Regions from separate parts of the Homo sapiens genome. Here all the other regions are linked to region 2. Evidence: promoter capture Hi-C in 16 types of primary human blood cells and fetal thymus (Javierre and others, 2016). All regions are on one chromosome and are shown on one strand. Each heading gives the region's core, a stretch centred on a gene start or on the middle of the fragment in contact. The rest is flanking DNA. Distances are from core to core; before and after follow the strand shown.

Evidence for each region. Contacts are between HindIII fragments. The CHiCAGO score rates a contact against its expected background, and 5 or more counts as called.
Region 1: the fragment with the promoter of MORN1 here is called in contact with the fragment with the promoter of NPHP4 in region 2 in 1 of 17 cell types (fetal thymus); the score reaches 8.2 in fetal thymus.
Region 3: a contact is called between the fragment with the promoter of PRXL2B here and the fragment with the promoter of NPHP4 in region 2, in 2 of 17 cell types (fetal thymus and monocytes). The highest score is 11.0, in fetal thymus.

What each region holds. Positions count from the first base shown.
Region 1 is chr1:2,390,061-2,394,569 of GRCh38, reverse strand. MORN1 (MORN repeat containing 1) reads left to right here and starts at 3,016. Exons shown (of 14, transcript NM_024848.3): 1 at 3,016-3,112. The coding sequence starts at 3,037. RER1 (retention in endoplasmic reticulum sorting receptor 1) reads right to left here and starts at 2,729. Exons shown (of 7, transcript NM_007033.5): 1 at 2,612-2,729. RefSeq lists silencers at 2,444-2,743, 2,844-2,953, 3,084-3,153, 3,314-3,443 and enhancers at 1,985-2,857, 2,726-3,020. The HindIII fragment of the contact is 4,806 bases long and covers 1,632-4,509 here.
Region 2 is chr1:5,990,420-5,994,991 of GRCh38, reverse strand. It overlaps NPHP4 (nephrocystin 4), which reads left to right and starts at 2,567. Exons shown (of 30, transcript NM_015102.5): 1 at 2,567-2,748. It also overlaps a transcript of KCNAB2 not described here. RefSeq lists enhancers at 1,218-1,267, 3,144-3,998 and silencers at 2,018-2,267, 2,348-2,527, 2,568-2,737, 2,888-3,067. The HindIII fragment of the contact is 3,854 bases long and covers 1,529-4,572 here.
Region 3 is chr1:2,583,680-2,588,189 of GRCh38, reverse strand. It overlaps PRXL2B (peroxiredoxin like 2B), which reads right to left and starts at 1,413. Exons shown (of 7, transcript NM_152371.5): 1 at 1,242-1,413; 2 at 895-1,099; 3 at 398-449. The coding sequence starts at 1,304. LOC100996583 (a long non-coding RNA gene) reads right to left here. Exons shown (of 4, transcript NR_121638.1): 4 at 3,656-4,065. RefSeq lists an enhancer at 1-605. The HindIII fragment of the contact is 11,388 bases long and covers 1-4,510 here.

The DNA of each region.
Region 1 (4,509 bases), core at 1,767-4,266, 3.6 Mb after region 2:
AGATAAGAAAACTGAAGCTCACAAAGACTAAAGAGTTGCCCTGGCCCATCAGCATGTTCGCAGTGGGCAGGAGCCAGAACCTGCACCTTCCTGAAACCAACGCTTTTCCAGTCCCATCCTCACTGTGAGCACTGGGGAAATCTTCCCTTCAGGTGGAAGGCAACAGGTGGCCAGACGCAATCCCGCCCTCAAGTGCCTTGGCTCTCCCATCACAACTGATGCGCTGAAGTGATCCAGGCAGCTCCCTCCACATCATCAAGTCTGTGCAGAATGTGGCTCCATGACACCGTTCCTGGATCCTCTGTGCAGAGTGCCAGGCTGCTCAAGGAGACCGAGGGGCCCTTTGGTCTCGCGGAGCCGTGTAAACCAGACACAGAGGAGGAGCACCTTTACTCTCCACTGAAAGAACTCCATATTTAAATAGAGGCTACACTAAAATGTGTCACCTGGAATGGCCACCCTATTTAGGCCAAAGCCAGGCCATCTGAAAGCCACCCGTCACATTGTTCGTCCTATAGCTCCTTGTAAGTTTCCCCGTTTTACTCAGACTGTTTCCCATTAAAGCACTTTTACTGGACTGGAGGTGATGAGAGTAATGTCAGGGAGAAAATACCCAGCTCTCCCGCCAAAGGGTGTTCTCTAGGCAAAGCTCAGAACTTCTCACTCTCCAACTGAACATGTAGAAAACCTACTCAAAACGCCATCAGCCAATCCTGCTTGTCTGACACACACAACACGTATACCAAACACACACGTATACCAAACACAGCTTGCACCCTGACTGAACGCATTGCCAGGAATAGCCTGAGGCAGGGCGGCAGGAGCAAGAACGTGAACTTTGGACTCCAACAGCCTGCTTTCAGATCCTGGCTCTACCACTCTCTGCCAGTGTGACTAGGACAGGCTATTCCAGGATGCCTCAGGTTCCAGTCTGTGAAATGGGACAACAGCACCTCTCATGCCTTCTCCACAAGGCTCTCGTGAGGAATCAGTGGGCAGCCCGTGGAGCACCCTTGGAGCCGGGCAAGGCAGTGCCAGCCCTGTTCCTGGATCAGGGCCAGCCCTCACACCAGCTGCCCCCTCTGCAGTCCTCTTCTCTGCTCAGTTTGAAGCCCACCTCCTCTTCACAGGCCTCCGTTACCGCCCACACTGACCCCCAGTCCCTTACATCACATCACCCTATTTTTATTTTGTGTACAACTGTTTCCTGATACCTTTCTGGTTTACTTCTCAATTTTCTCCTGCTAGAATGAAGCTCCTTGAGGGGTCCCTTGTCTGGTTCGGGGCTGGGCCCTGCCACCTGGAAGTCCATTACATAGTAGACAGCCCATCAATTACCTGTTGAAGGTGACTGCTTTATGCCTGGTCACAAACAAAACAGAAAGGGAGATAAAACCAGTCCAAGCAGAGACCATGAGGACGTGCCAGAAAGTGTAAGACTCTCTATGTGCCTTGTTCCAGGCCCGTCACATTCATCCACATCTGTGGTCCATCACTCTGCACGTGGAAAGGATGAAGTCCTCTGCCTGGCGTCCGGGAGCATTGACAGTCTGGCTCCCACCTTTCTCTTCACGTCCCCATCCCCAATTCCTCCGGGACTAAGAAAGCCCCCGGCTGCCGTGCACCAAGCTTCACGCCTCTGGTGTTGTTCAGTCCTCTGAAATGCCCTCCCAGACCCCGTCTCTTCCTCCTTCCCAAGGCCACATTCCAGCCTGGGCTCCCCGCTCCTCTGGGCCTGACCATCTTATATCTCCACCTGGCTCTGACACACTGTTACCGCCGTCGCCGTCACCTCAGGCATACGGCAGAAGCCATGTGAGAGTCTGAATTACTGAGAACCCTTTATCCACTTACGGGGATAACTGCATCTTCCTGGGAAATGTCAACTCAACTAAAAATAAAGTGCTTCCAGGACTAGCGGCCAGTCTCTACTCTTCATAAAGGGAAAAGGGCAAAAGCCCACTGAAGGTACTTAGGCTGAAAGCAGCCCTCTGTGCTGTGAGACACCTGGCAGAGAAACGAACGATACCTTTATCAGTGGGGCCACAGACCAGTACTAAGTCAGCCTGGAGAATTTATGATTTTATTGCCTATTTAGAATACGATCAAAACCGATGTAACTAGTTTCCCTTCAGCCCGTCAGTAACGCCTTCACCCCAGAGCTTAACACTAAATCCTACAGATAAGCGCTGACCTGGACGCAGGATGGGGACAGGGCACATTACTCTGGAATACAGCCCAACTCGCAGCGCTGTGGGGGCCGCGACTGCCCGCTTCCCCCAGATGCCAAGCAGGGGATGCGGACGAGATGCGGCCCGGGTGGCTCGAGGGCTGCAGCCCCCGCCCGGCCCCTCTCCCGCTCCCCCGACCCTCGCAGGCCCCAGGGCTCCGCCGCACCCCCCAGCACCCCGTCCCGGGCCCGACCCCGAGGCGCGACCCGTACCCCTCAGGGCCGCGGGTCGGGAACACGGTCCCCGCGGCCACCCGGGCCCCGACGGCCCTCCCCGCCCGGCCCTCAGCGCGGCCCCGCCCGCCCGCGGCCTTGACAGCCCGGAAGAAGCGGAGGCGGCGCTGCCCGGCCGTTCCCGCGCCACGCAGCCCTTCCTGGCACCTCGCAGCTCCGCTACGGCCGAGCCGCGGTCTCCCTCACGGCCGCGGGAAGGAGGACGGCGGGGCACGGGCGGCCGCAGGCGCTGCGCTCCGGCTCCGGGAAGCTGCAGCGAGCACTTCCGCTCCGTCCTCCGCGGCGCCGCCTCCAGGGCCCCCAAGATGGCGCGAGGGCGGGGCCAAGGGCTCCAACCATTTCCGCTTCCGGCGCAGACGCGCAGGCCGTTGGCGGGCGGGCCTCCCGGCGGAAGAGACGACAGCGGCGGAAACGCGCACAGGCGCAGCTGCGTCCTCTGGCTCCGGGCCCGGCTAGCTTCGCTCCAGAGATTGCGCGGGCTCAGGGACTAGGCCCGTGGCCACACCCCCCCTTGCGACAAAGACCAATGGAAGCGGGCGTTGCTGGTCGCTAAGAGAACCCTCGGCGGCAAGATGGCAGCGGCGGGCGAGGGCACCCCGAGCTCCCGCGGGCCGCGTCGGGACCCGCCTAGGCGGCCGCCCCGGAACGGTAACGACTGCGGGCCACGGGACAGGTCGCTGGCTGCCCTGGGCTCCATTCAGGGTGCGATCGCTCTACGCCCTCGACCCCCAAATGCTCACCTCGGAAAGTAGAGGTCCAGGTGCCGCGGCGGAGCCAGGGCCGCCCCCGCGTCCCCCACTCCCACAGGACTCGCCGTGCGCCTCGGGCTCGGCTCGCACCCTTCCCCGAGCCCTCCTCCCGCAGCAGGCCAAGCCCTGCAGGGGGTCGCCCCCCGCGGGCTCCTAGCCGGGAAGACCGGGTTCCGGCCGCAGCCTCACAGCCAGCGGGACCTGGGGTTGCCATGGGGATCCCGAAGCCCAGGACTTGGGGCGAGGGCAGGCGCAGGAGCAGCACCAAGCCTCCTGACTTCCTGGCCGGTGCTGTCCAGAAACGCTAGGACGCGTTTCAAAAGCAGTTTTTGCCTGTACTTCCAGCACTTTGGGAGGCCGAGGCGGGTGGATCACCTGAGGTCAGGAGTTCGAGACCAGTGTGGCCAACATGGCGAAACCCGGTCTCTACTAAAAAATACAAAAATTGGCCCGGGGTGGTGCCTCCTGTAGTTCCAGCTACTCGGGAGGCTGAGGCAGGAGAATCGCTTGAACCCAGGAAGCGGAGGTTGCAGAGAGCCGAGATCGCGCCGCTGCACCCCAGCCTGGGCGACAGAGCAAGACTCAGTCTCAAAAAAAAAAAAAAGAGCAGGTTTTGATAGGAACTGTTTCTAGAATCAAATAAACGGGTCTGGAATGAACTCAGAGCTAACACTACTATCTTCAGGTAGAACCTGACCCTGATTTGGGACAGATACAGTAGCCTGTAGTAACCCCCTGCCCTCCTCCCCGACATTTTCCCATAAACCCTGCCCACAAAATGTGCCTGAGGAGCTGGTAGGGAGGGAGCCCTGCCCATTCCTGGAACTGCAGGAGTTGGCGGGTGGCACACCCAGCAACTAGGAGGAGATGAAGCCGGCCAGGCCATCCTTGGGTATGAGTGTGGATTTTCTCCCCAGCGATAGGAGGCCACTGAAGGGCCACGGCAGGGGATGGGAGAGTCTGCTCCTCCCCTGTGTGCCTCACTGACACTGCCGCTCTGCCTTCCCCTGGCTCACTCATCTCCTGCAACAAGGCTCCCAACCTGCTCCTCACCACCTCCCGAGCACCTCTGGTCTCTCAAGGACCTGCAGTTGTTTCAAGCCAGCCCTCCTCTTACTGGGCCTGTCTTCTCTGCACCAAGTAGGTCCTCATCCTTGTCACATAAACAAATGAGCAAATGAATGGCCCAACAGTCGACAGGAGAGCTCATGAGCCCCACAGGTCGCCTCTGGTCTGCTGAAGGTGACGTGTACCAACCCCTTGAAGGCCCTCAAGGGAGCTGCACTCCCTCCTTCA
Region 2 (4,572 bases), core at 1,318-3,817:
AGCAGGCTCTCCTTCCACACAGATGATGTGTTCCCAGTTACCACGGCAGAGCACCAACACACAGGAAGGTCTAGGGGAGGCCCCTCCCTCCAAGCCCAGGCCGGAAACTGCCAAATCAAAACTGTGTGGCACTCGCTTCCTCCTGAACCATTTGGGTCTTAGAAGATGACTGAAAAATGAAAGCGAGGAAGCCTTCTCTAGCTGGCCAGCCCATGGCACCCTCGGCCTTTCCAGCTCTCTAGCGCCATGGCCCACGTCCCACCTCCCGGGTGCAATGGCTTCTGTGCACACTGCTTCCCATCCAGGCTCCAAATCCAGACCCAAGACGGTTCTCAACCAAGAAACACACGAAAAGGGTTTCACACTTTTTCACGACACCCCCCAACTCCAGTGCCTGGCTCAGCCCCCAGGTGTTGACTAGCACCTACAAAGCATTTGCTGACTGGCGCAGGGAAAAAAAAAATGGCCCTGGGTGTCAACAGGGAAGCCCCTACCATGCTGCTCTCGAGGGATGTGCTGCGGCCCGAACACTGTCAGTGCCACTGAGGCCGAGTGTGGCCGTGGAGACAATGACAGGACCTGGAGGACCAAGTGCACTCTTAGGGCCCCACACTGCGAGAGCACAGGGCCAGGAGCTGCACAGGGCTCTGCAGCAGACACGGCCGCCAGGCGAGAATCAGGTGGGCAGATGTGACTCTCCACACGTAGGTCCCCAAACCCTGCAACCTGCAACGCGGGGCCTGAATGCGGCTTCCTTAGCAGAGCAGGAGCTTACTCTTGGCACTGGGGGAAAGGGGAGGGGTGAGGCTGGGGTTTTTGTCGGGGAGGAGAAGTTGCAGAGAAAGAAAAAATCCTGAAACGACAGACAGTGGGACAGCTGTGGCCTGAACTTGGTGTTCTTGCTCCTCGGATGTGGATGTATTAATTTCCATAAATGCTAATAGCCCACTTCCCCAAGAGCTATTACTTATGTCATCTCCCCTTGGACACAGTTCAACACAGGGCAGACAAATGAAAGGGAGGAAAAGACAACCCCCAGTGGCGGTCCCCAGCTCCTCAGCCCCCTCCCAACCAGGCAGCTCAGGTCTGGTTCCTAAGGTGGCCCTGCTAACCGCAGGGTCAAGACCCCTGCCTTCAGCTCCGTAGCCAGGTCCCTATCACGACAGGAAGCAAGAAAGTTACCAACCCCAAAAATGCTGAATCACAAAGTGAGGCTGAGCAGGAAAGTGGGGGTGGGGAGGGAAGGAGACGGTGGCCAGGGAGGAAAGGTGCTAAGGGGCTTTCCACCTGGAGCACCCCGGGATGCTGCGGGCAAAGCACAGTCCCTGTAAGAGCCCCCAGGACAAATGCCAGGAGGAGGGACACCAGGATGCGGCTGGTTGGCGGGGTGGGAAGGTGGGCAGGTACCCCGGCTGCTGCTAATGCCGCAGGACGCGGTGCAGCAGTGGGGTCTTTGCATCCTGGGAGCAGCAGCAGGTAGGGAGGTGCGGAAGTGCTTTGTGCCAAGGCCTGGCAGGAGGGAGAAGCTTAAGATAGGAGTAGGGGCTCAGGGTCAGAAGTGGCGGTGTGTGTGCTGTAAACAGCCCGAGGAACTGGTGCAGGAAGCAGGGTCACAGTCTTGGGGAGCAGGGTAAGGTGGTGAGAGCGTGCCCGCGGGGAGAGGTCGGAGGGGCTGGGGGCAGAATGGGAGGGTGGGGAAAGGGACCGGAGCGACACAGGGACAGGCAGCGAGAACGACGGATGAGCCTTGAGAAGCGATCAGGAGGAGAGATGGGGAGGACCGGGAACAGCAGCGCCCCGGTGGGGCTGCGCAGAGGCCGGGAGAGGGGATGAGAGGAGGATGGAGGAAAGGGGAGGGCGAGGCTGCTAGGACCGGAGCGGGCAGAGATGGGGAAGAGGTGCACCGGGAAGAGGGACGGCGGCAGGGGCAGGGGTCAGGGATGCGAGCTGAAGGGTCGGGCGGGCGGGAGGACAGGGAAGGAAAGACAGAAAGGGATGGGGGAAGGGAGACGATGGAGAAGGAGGTGAGGAGGCTGGAGAGGAGGTGAGACAGCGGCGGAGGCAGGGACGCAGGGCCGGGGAAGAAGAGATGGAGACGGGACCGCGGCGCCTGCCGCAGCGCGGGCCTCGCGGATACCCGCCGCCGCCGTCCCGGAGCAGCTTGGTGGAAAGCGCGCCCCGCCGGGGTCTCCCCGGTACTCACCTGGGGGCTCCAGCTCCGGATCCTGTGCCCCGCGCCGGATCTTCCTTCCCGCCCTGCCCCTGCGACTTTAGCGCCCCCGAATCCCGCTAGCTCCTGCAGGTTCCGCCAGCAGCATCTTCACCTCGTGGGACGCCCGGGGCCACGCCTCTTCCAGCTTCTGATTGGCTATTGTTCACGCCAGTCACATTACCATTGGTTGAGGGGTCGTCGGACATGCAAATCAGGATGGGCCCGCCGCCGCACCGATTGGCTGGCGCTCGCAAAGCGCAGCCCTCGACTTGGGCTCTGATTGGCTCCGCGGCCCTGACGGCGACAGTGACGCGAGGCGGGTTCTTGGACTGAGTGTGCGGCGCGGTGCGCCGCCTTCCGAGGCTCCTCCCGCGGGTGGCAGCGGACGGGGCGCGCCCCTCGGCCAGTCCTCGGTCCTCAGGCTTGTGGCTCCGTTGAGCACCGGCCGCCGGGCCTCTGGGTCCGTCGAGTGGAGACTCTCTGAAAAGCGTGGGCTCCGTGGCCTCCGGCGCGGCCGCGGCGGGTCGGTCTCCTAGGTAACGCGGCCCGCGGCGGGCGGAACCATGTGGGCCGGCGCCGCGGGGGAGGTTGGACGCGGCCTCGAGGCACAGGGGGCCTCAGTGTTGGCCAGAGCCTCGGGGTTCGGGGGTAGGGTGGTCCACGCCGTCCCTGCGTGGGGGCCCGGTGCCTGGGGTGCGGCGGTGGCGCGCGGCGGGGGCTGTCCCCGCGTTAGTCGCAGGCGTCCCCCCTCGTCGGGACACTTGGGGTCGGGGCCGCTGGGTGCCGTTTGGCTACGTGGGTTCCTTTCTGCCCTTGCCCTTTGCCCCCTGCCCCCTGCCCCCTGCCCCCTGCCCCCTGGCCTCTCTGCAGCCCCTCGGCTGAAGGGAGCGCGGTACCGATGTTCTGGGCCTTGGCTCCCCGCGCCCTAGTCCGCGCGCATCCTTCCCAGGCCGGAGTCCGCGGACCCCGCCTGGCCGCGCCCCTCCGCCCCTCCTCCCCGCCCCCCGGCTCCAGCTCCGGCTCCGGCTGTCAGTTCCCCGCGGTGGCTCTGCGGCCTTCGGGCGTCCCTGCGAGGCTTTGTACCCGGCGCCGTCCCGGCCTTCTGCGCCCCTTTCCTGCCTTGGAACCTCCCGGCCGACCCGGCCCGGAAGGCGCCACCCGCTCCCGCGTGCCCTTCCCCACGCGTGCAGGCTGCTCCCGCCCGCCCCCGGGCTTGCAGGCACCTCGCTGCCCGAGATTCCTCGTGTCTAACTTCTTAGGAGACCGCTGCTTTCTGCCTCCGTGTGTCGCGATGTGTGGCTTTGGTGGACGTCTGTGAAGGAAATCCAGCCTCTCGCGTGTGTAGTTGGCAAAAGGAGGAGTATTTCTGTTGATGGTGGGCAGCGCCTCCCGGTCCTAACCCAGGGCTCCGTTCGTTGCACCTCCTCTGTGCAGTTTCCGTAGGTCACACTTGTGTCTTTTTGTATGCTAATTTGTGCCCCGTTTCTTTACATTCTATGGGGGTAGCGAGCTTGTCTGCTGTGTTCAAGACCGTTTCTCCCGGGCGCAGGGTAGGTGCTGAAAGAATGCTCATGAATGAGGGAATTCCAGGCAGTGCTTAATCAGACCTCTGCTTCCCCAAAAGCTCCCCAAGGCATCTGGGTCTCAGGCATTACACATTTTCCATTCCGGGAAGGAGGCTTCCCGGACCCTGACAGCGCCTCCCACCCCCTGCATCTTCCTTCAGCCCTGCTCACCTCTGCACCCTCCCGGGGGCCTGTTGCTGCTCACAGTCACTTTCTTGTCTTTCTCCCCCACTGGCTTTCTAGATGCTTGAAGACAGCACATTTGACAGCCTTCTTATGCACTGGAACACAAGTGCTCGGGAAATAGTTGCTGAATAGATCAGCAGAAGCAGAGATCTCAAGGAGATTTCACAGCTCTCATTTTGGAGGTTGGAAACAGGTGGGGAGGCTGCGAATCTGTCCTGAAGTTAAAGAGGAGACAGCATTAGCCCTGGGTTCCTTTGGTGCTCTTACTTTTTCCCTCTGGGCCTCTCTTCTCCCTTGGCCTCTCCTGGCCTCCTTGATTGAGGTAGTGGGAGGTAGTTATAATAGCTTACAGTATTATATCTATAATACTATTATAATAGCTAGTTATAATAGCTAGCTGTGTGACCTTGGATTGGCTGTTTATCCTTTCTGAGTCTCAGTGTTCTCATCTGTAAGATGGCGATAATGATGATTCTCATTTGGCAGAGTTGTTGGAATAGTAACCATAGAATGTGAGTTCCTGTCTTGCATCAGGGGCTCATTAAAAGTGGGTGTATTTTCTTCTTCTTCTTTTTTTTTTTCCCCTGGAGAGCCCACTGTACCCTTTTC
Region 3 (4,510 bases), core at 164-2,663, 3.4 Mb after region 2:
CCGAGGGTCCACAGAGGGTGCAGGGAGCATGGATGGGGCCCCAGGCTGGGTGTGCCCAGGGATCTGGCTCAGCTGGCAACTGCCAAGCAAAGGAAGCAGCCTGTGGCACAGACACCAGAAAGCTAGGATGGCCCCTGATGGGCCACGAGGCTCCACCCCACGAGGTGGTCTGGACACCGAGAGTAAGCCCCGGACGAGGTGGCTCATTACAGTCACCCAGCACCCAAGAGAAGGCCTGGCAGAAGGGCTGGTCAACAGTGCCACCAGAGCCGCCTTGCCCAGGAAGGCCCGAGTGGACAGCACCACAGAGGGCAGCAGGGAGAGGAGGTGGCAGGGAGCGGTGGGAACCCCTGGGCCCCCCACCCCACGCTACCCAAGGGTTCCCGCCCCCACTCACCGCTTGAAGCCTAGCTCCTTGTAAAGCTGCTTGCTCTCATCCAGGTAGAGCTCTGGAAAGCGGAAGCCACATGTGTGTGCCCCAGGCGCAGAACCAGCCCCCAACCCACTCACCACAAAGAATCGCCCTCCTCCTTCCGACCCTCTGTTCCTCTGCCCACCCTCCGTGCTCAGCCCACCCCCGCAGGGCAGGGAGGGGTAAAACGGGGCTGAGTGTCCCCCCTCCCCTCAGAAGAGGGGCTGAGTCCCAGAGGCAACAGGTGGAGCCGGCGGGGCAGAGCTCGTCCAGACTCTGCTGCTGGGCCCAGGTCTGTGCAGGGCACCACCCAGCCACCAGCTGCGGGGCGGGGAGGCAGGGAGAGATGAGGGACGCTGACCCGTGGGCATATCAAGGCCGCTCCAGCAGACAGAAGGGCCGGGGTTGGGCAGGAAAGGGCCCCGAACGCCCTGAGCTTAGGGAAGGGTATGTGCGCCGCCGCGGCGGGGAACAGGACGCACCTCCCGCGAAGTAGTCGCCGTCCAGGAACTCCTGCAGACCCAGGGCCTCGGGCCCTACGCCCACCAGGCGCACGCCGTGTTGGTCCAGGAGCCCAGCAAGGCTGCTGAGGTCCTGGGCGATCCAGCGGCACACCACGCACCCGAAGCGCCGCAGCCCGGCCACCACGCACGCGTGCTCCCGCCACAGGCTCCGCAGCTCCACGGCCTGCCGGGCGGCTGGGTCATGGGCGCGCCCCGTTGCCCCCAGCCCCGCCCAGGCCCCGCGGCCCCCACCACCCCATCGCTGCCAGGACGCCCGGGCAAGGAGCCAGGGACGCGCCCACCGCCCTGCGTCCACCCGGCCTCACCTCCCCGGTCACCGCATGCTTCAGGATGCACGCGCCCACGCGAGCAAGGTCCACCGTGCTCATGGCGGCCGCTGCCAGCCCTGGTTCCCGGCTCCCCGACTCCCTGTTCCCCGCTCCCGGCTCCTCGCTCCTGGATCCCCGCTCCCGGCTCATAGATCCAGCCCCAAGCCCCGCCCCGAGATGCCCCGGTCCCGCCTTTCTTGCTGCCGCCGAGGCCCCGCCCCTTCGGGCTCGTCTCCGCCCCGGGCCCGCCCCCAAGATGGCCGCAGCGCGCCCCGGCCACGCCCCCGACCGCACCCCGAGCCCTGCTCCGCCCCCTCGGATTCGCCCCTAGTCCCGCCTTGTTTCCCCTCCTACTCCAGGCCAAGCCTCGAGATCGCGGCGCCAAATCCTGGGTCCGCCTGCTTCGGTCCCTCCCGCCTCCTCAATCCGGGCCTTGCGGGACAGTTGCTGTCCCGCGTCCTGGTCCCGCCCCTAGCCCCGCCTCTCCGTTGGGCCGCCGACTTGGACCCCGTCGGCCATTGGCGCAGCAGGCGGAGCTGGGCGGTGCGGCCCTCGGTGCGCGGTGCGCCTGTGCGGAATGCGGCGGGAGGCGGGCAGCCGGCTCGGGGTCGTCCCGGGGGGCGCCGGGGAGCGGCTGGGTACGGTGGGCCCAGGGGTGGTCCAGGGAGCGGCGGGGGTCTCCCTGCGGCCTCGCGCGAGACTGGGCTGGACTCAGGGTTGAGGGGAGAGGGTGAGCGCAGGGGTCGCGGGCATAGGGGACCGCGGGCCGGGGTCTCCCGCGGGGCGGGGGTCCCAGCAGTGGGGGGCGGGGGGGTGCGAGGGCTTAGCCTTTCCACGTGGCCTGGTTTTCGCTTGAAAATCCCCGCAAATGCGGCAGCATCTCAATTATACATGGACGCGATGTCTTTAATCATGAAATACTGTTCATGTCGTGCCGGTTGCATATCAGCTTTTAACCCGCCAAACCTTGGGGCGAAATAGACCCCGGGGAGATAAGCACAGCTCCCAGAAGTGCACTGCGGGTCAGGTGCCTGGCAGATGCGTCCTGTTCCTCCCCCACTGCAGCCCTGTGATAGCTTTTGTCACCGAGTTGGGGTGAGGGCCGGGTCACAGCTTCACCCGGCCTGGGCTCCCACCTGAGCGGGCCCGGCCTGGCAGAGTCTGTGCTGCTGGCACGGGTCCTCACTCCCCAGGCCCCAGGACAGCTCCAGGGGCCTGGGCGGGCTGGAGAAGGAAGGGGGAGCCCCCACACTGTATTCCAAATAAAGAGAGGCCCCGGGGGGGTGCTGCTGCTTCGCCTGTGCCCTCGCCCTGGGGTGGTGAAGGTCCAGACTGCGAAACGGAAGTCGTCACTATGTCAGAAAGGGCAAAAAGCAAAACAAGGAAGGGGAAGCACTAGGAGGGAGGAGCTGTGGCAGCTCCAGAGCCCAGGAGTGCAGCCCCCAGAGACCAGGGCTACCCCTCTACCGTCTCGGGCTGTGCAGGAGGGGCCCTCTACCCTCTGGAGTTGTGCAGGAGGGGGCCCCTCTACCATCTGGGGCTGGGCAGGAAGGGCCCCCCCCCACCGTCTCAGGCTGTGCAGGAGGGGGCCCCTCTACTGTCTCGGGCTGTGCAGGAGGGGGCCCCTCTATCTTCTGGGGCTGTGCAGGAGGGGGCCCCTCCACTGTCTCAGGCTGTGCAGGAGAGGGCCCCTCTGCCGTCTGGGGCTGTGCAAGCAGTGAGCAAGCTGCCGCCTCCTTGGGAGCTGGGATCCCAGACGGGATTCAGCCATTTTCAGAGACGTTCCCAGAAACGAGAATGCGAGATCAATTCCTCGCCTGGCATCTCCCACCAACGCCATCGCTGCAGGAGCCTCACTGGAAGCCAACGGGCAGAGGAGAGTGGGAAAGGAGCTTGCAGCCTCCCAGCTCCAGTGATGCAGAGCAGAAGGTGGCTGGGAGGCTGAGAAGCCATAAGAAAATAGCAGGGCCAGCCCATGTGGCCGCTCAGATACATGCTATGTGTGTGTTTGCATATGTAGGGGCTGAAAAACTCCACCTCCATCCTTTTGAGGTCCTGGCTGGGCCCAAGAGTTAAATCAAGATAAGACAGATCATCATGCCAGTGTATTTGATTAAAGTTGGATGTGGCTCAGGAGCCCTCCTAAGGAAGTGAAGACCCAGTGAAGCAGACTCAGTCGTGTGCTGAGTTGGACAGAGAACAGTGAGGTTTGAGGAAGCAGCTAGATGATGTGGGGGGCTGAAAAGGTGAGAGGCATTTTATCAGGGACTGTACAGCATTTGCTGGGTCTCAGCTTCTCATCCTTGAGGATCAGAGCTTTCTAGTGTAGGGAGAGCATCTTTCACCTGGGAATTTCATCTTCTGCTTTTAAGAAACACAAGAGAGATCAGAATGATCTTTTTGCACCTGTTATTGTTTTAACTGCCTTTAATTCCTAATAGTGACTATGCCAGAGCAGCCTATTTTGGGGTGGCACCTTCTTAACTCTGCATACTGTACATATCTGGCACACATCATTTAAAGTAAATAGACAGGCTTGCTTACTTTTTACTCAAGTGCAACATAATTCAGAAAAGTGCAGACATGCTCAGTAGACAGCTCCTTCTACACGCCTGTTGACTTTCTTTCATCAATGACATATTGGTCGGCTCTTGCTAGGCTGTGTTGCCAAAACAACTCGCAAGCCTGGGTCGATCACAGCAACCAAGTTTCCCCTCCCACTCAGGTTTCTTGTCGGCCACGGGTGGCTCAGCTTCTGATGCCTCCTTCGTTCTGGGGTCCAGGCTGAGCAAGCTGTGGCTCTCTGGAACATGCCGTTCTCCTGACAAGGGAGGACATGGAGGAGAGATGGAGAAACCATGCCACACTCTCCCAGCGGCCATGCACAGCTGGGATGTGTCGCTTGCACTCCCATGTCACTGGCCAGAGCAAGTCACATGGCCAAGGAGGGGCAGGGAAGAGCACTTCCTCCTCCAGGTGGTGCCAGCTCTGGGACTGGGTTTTAGCTTTCCTTACAAAGGAAGAGCTGGCCCGTTACCGCAGCAGGGATGCTGACAGAAGACGTGAAACTCCGGGGTCAGAGACAAAGGACTTTTTCATTCATGGCGTGGCAGGCAGGTGCTCACCTGTGTGTTTGGTCTTATCCCCTTGCCCCCAAATTCCACGGGTGCCATGTGGGTAGGCCTGGGTGGGCACTGCACAGTCAGTAGGTTTGCGTGGCCACTGAGGAGCCCTGCACTGGGGGAGTCAGCTGTTTCTGCAGCAAG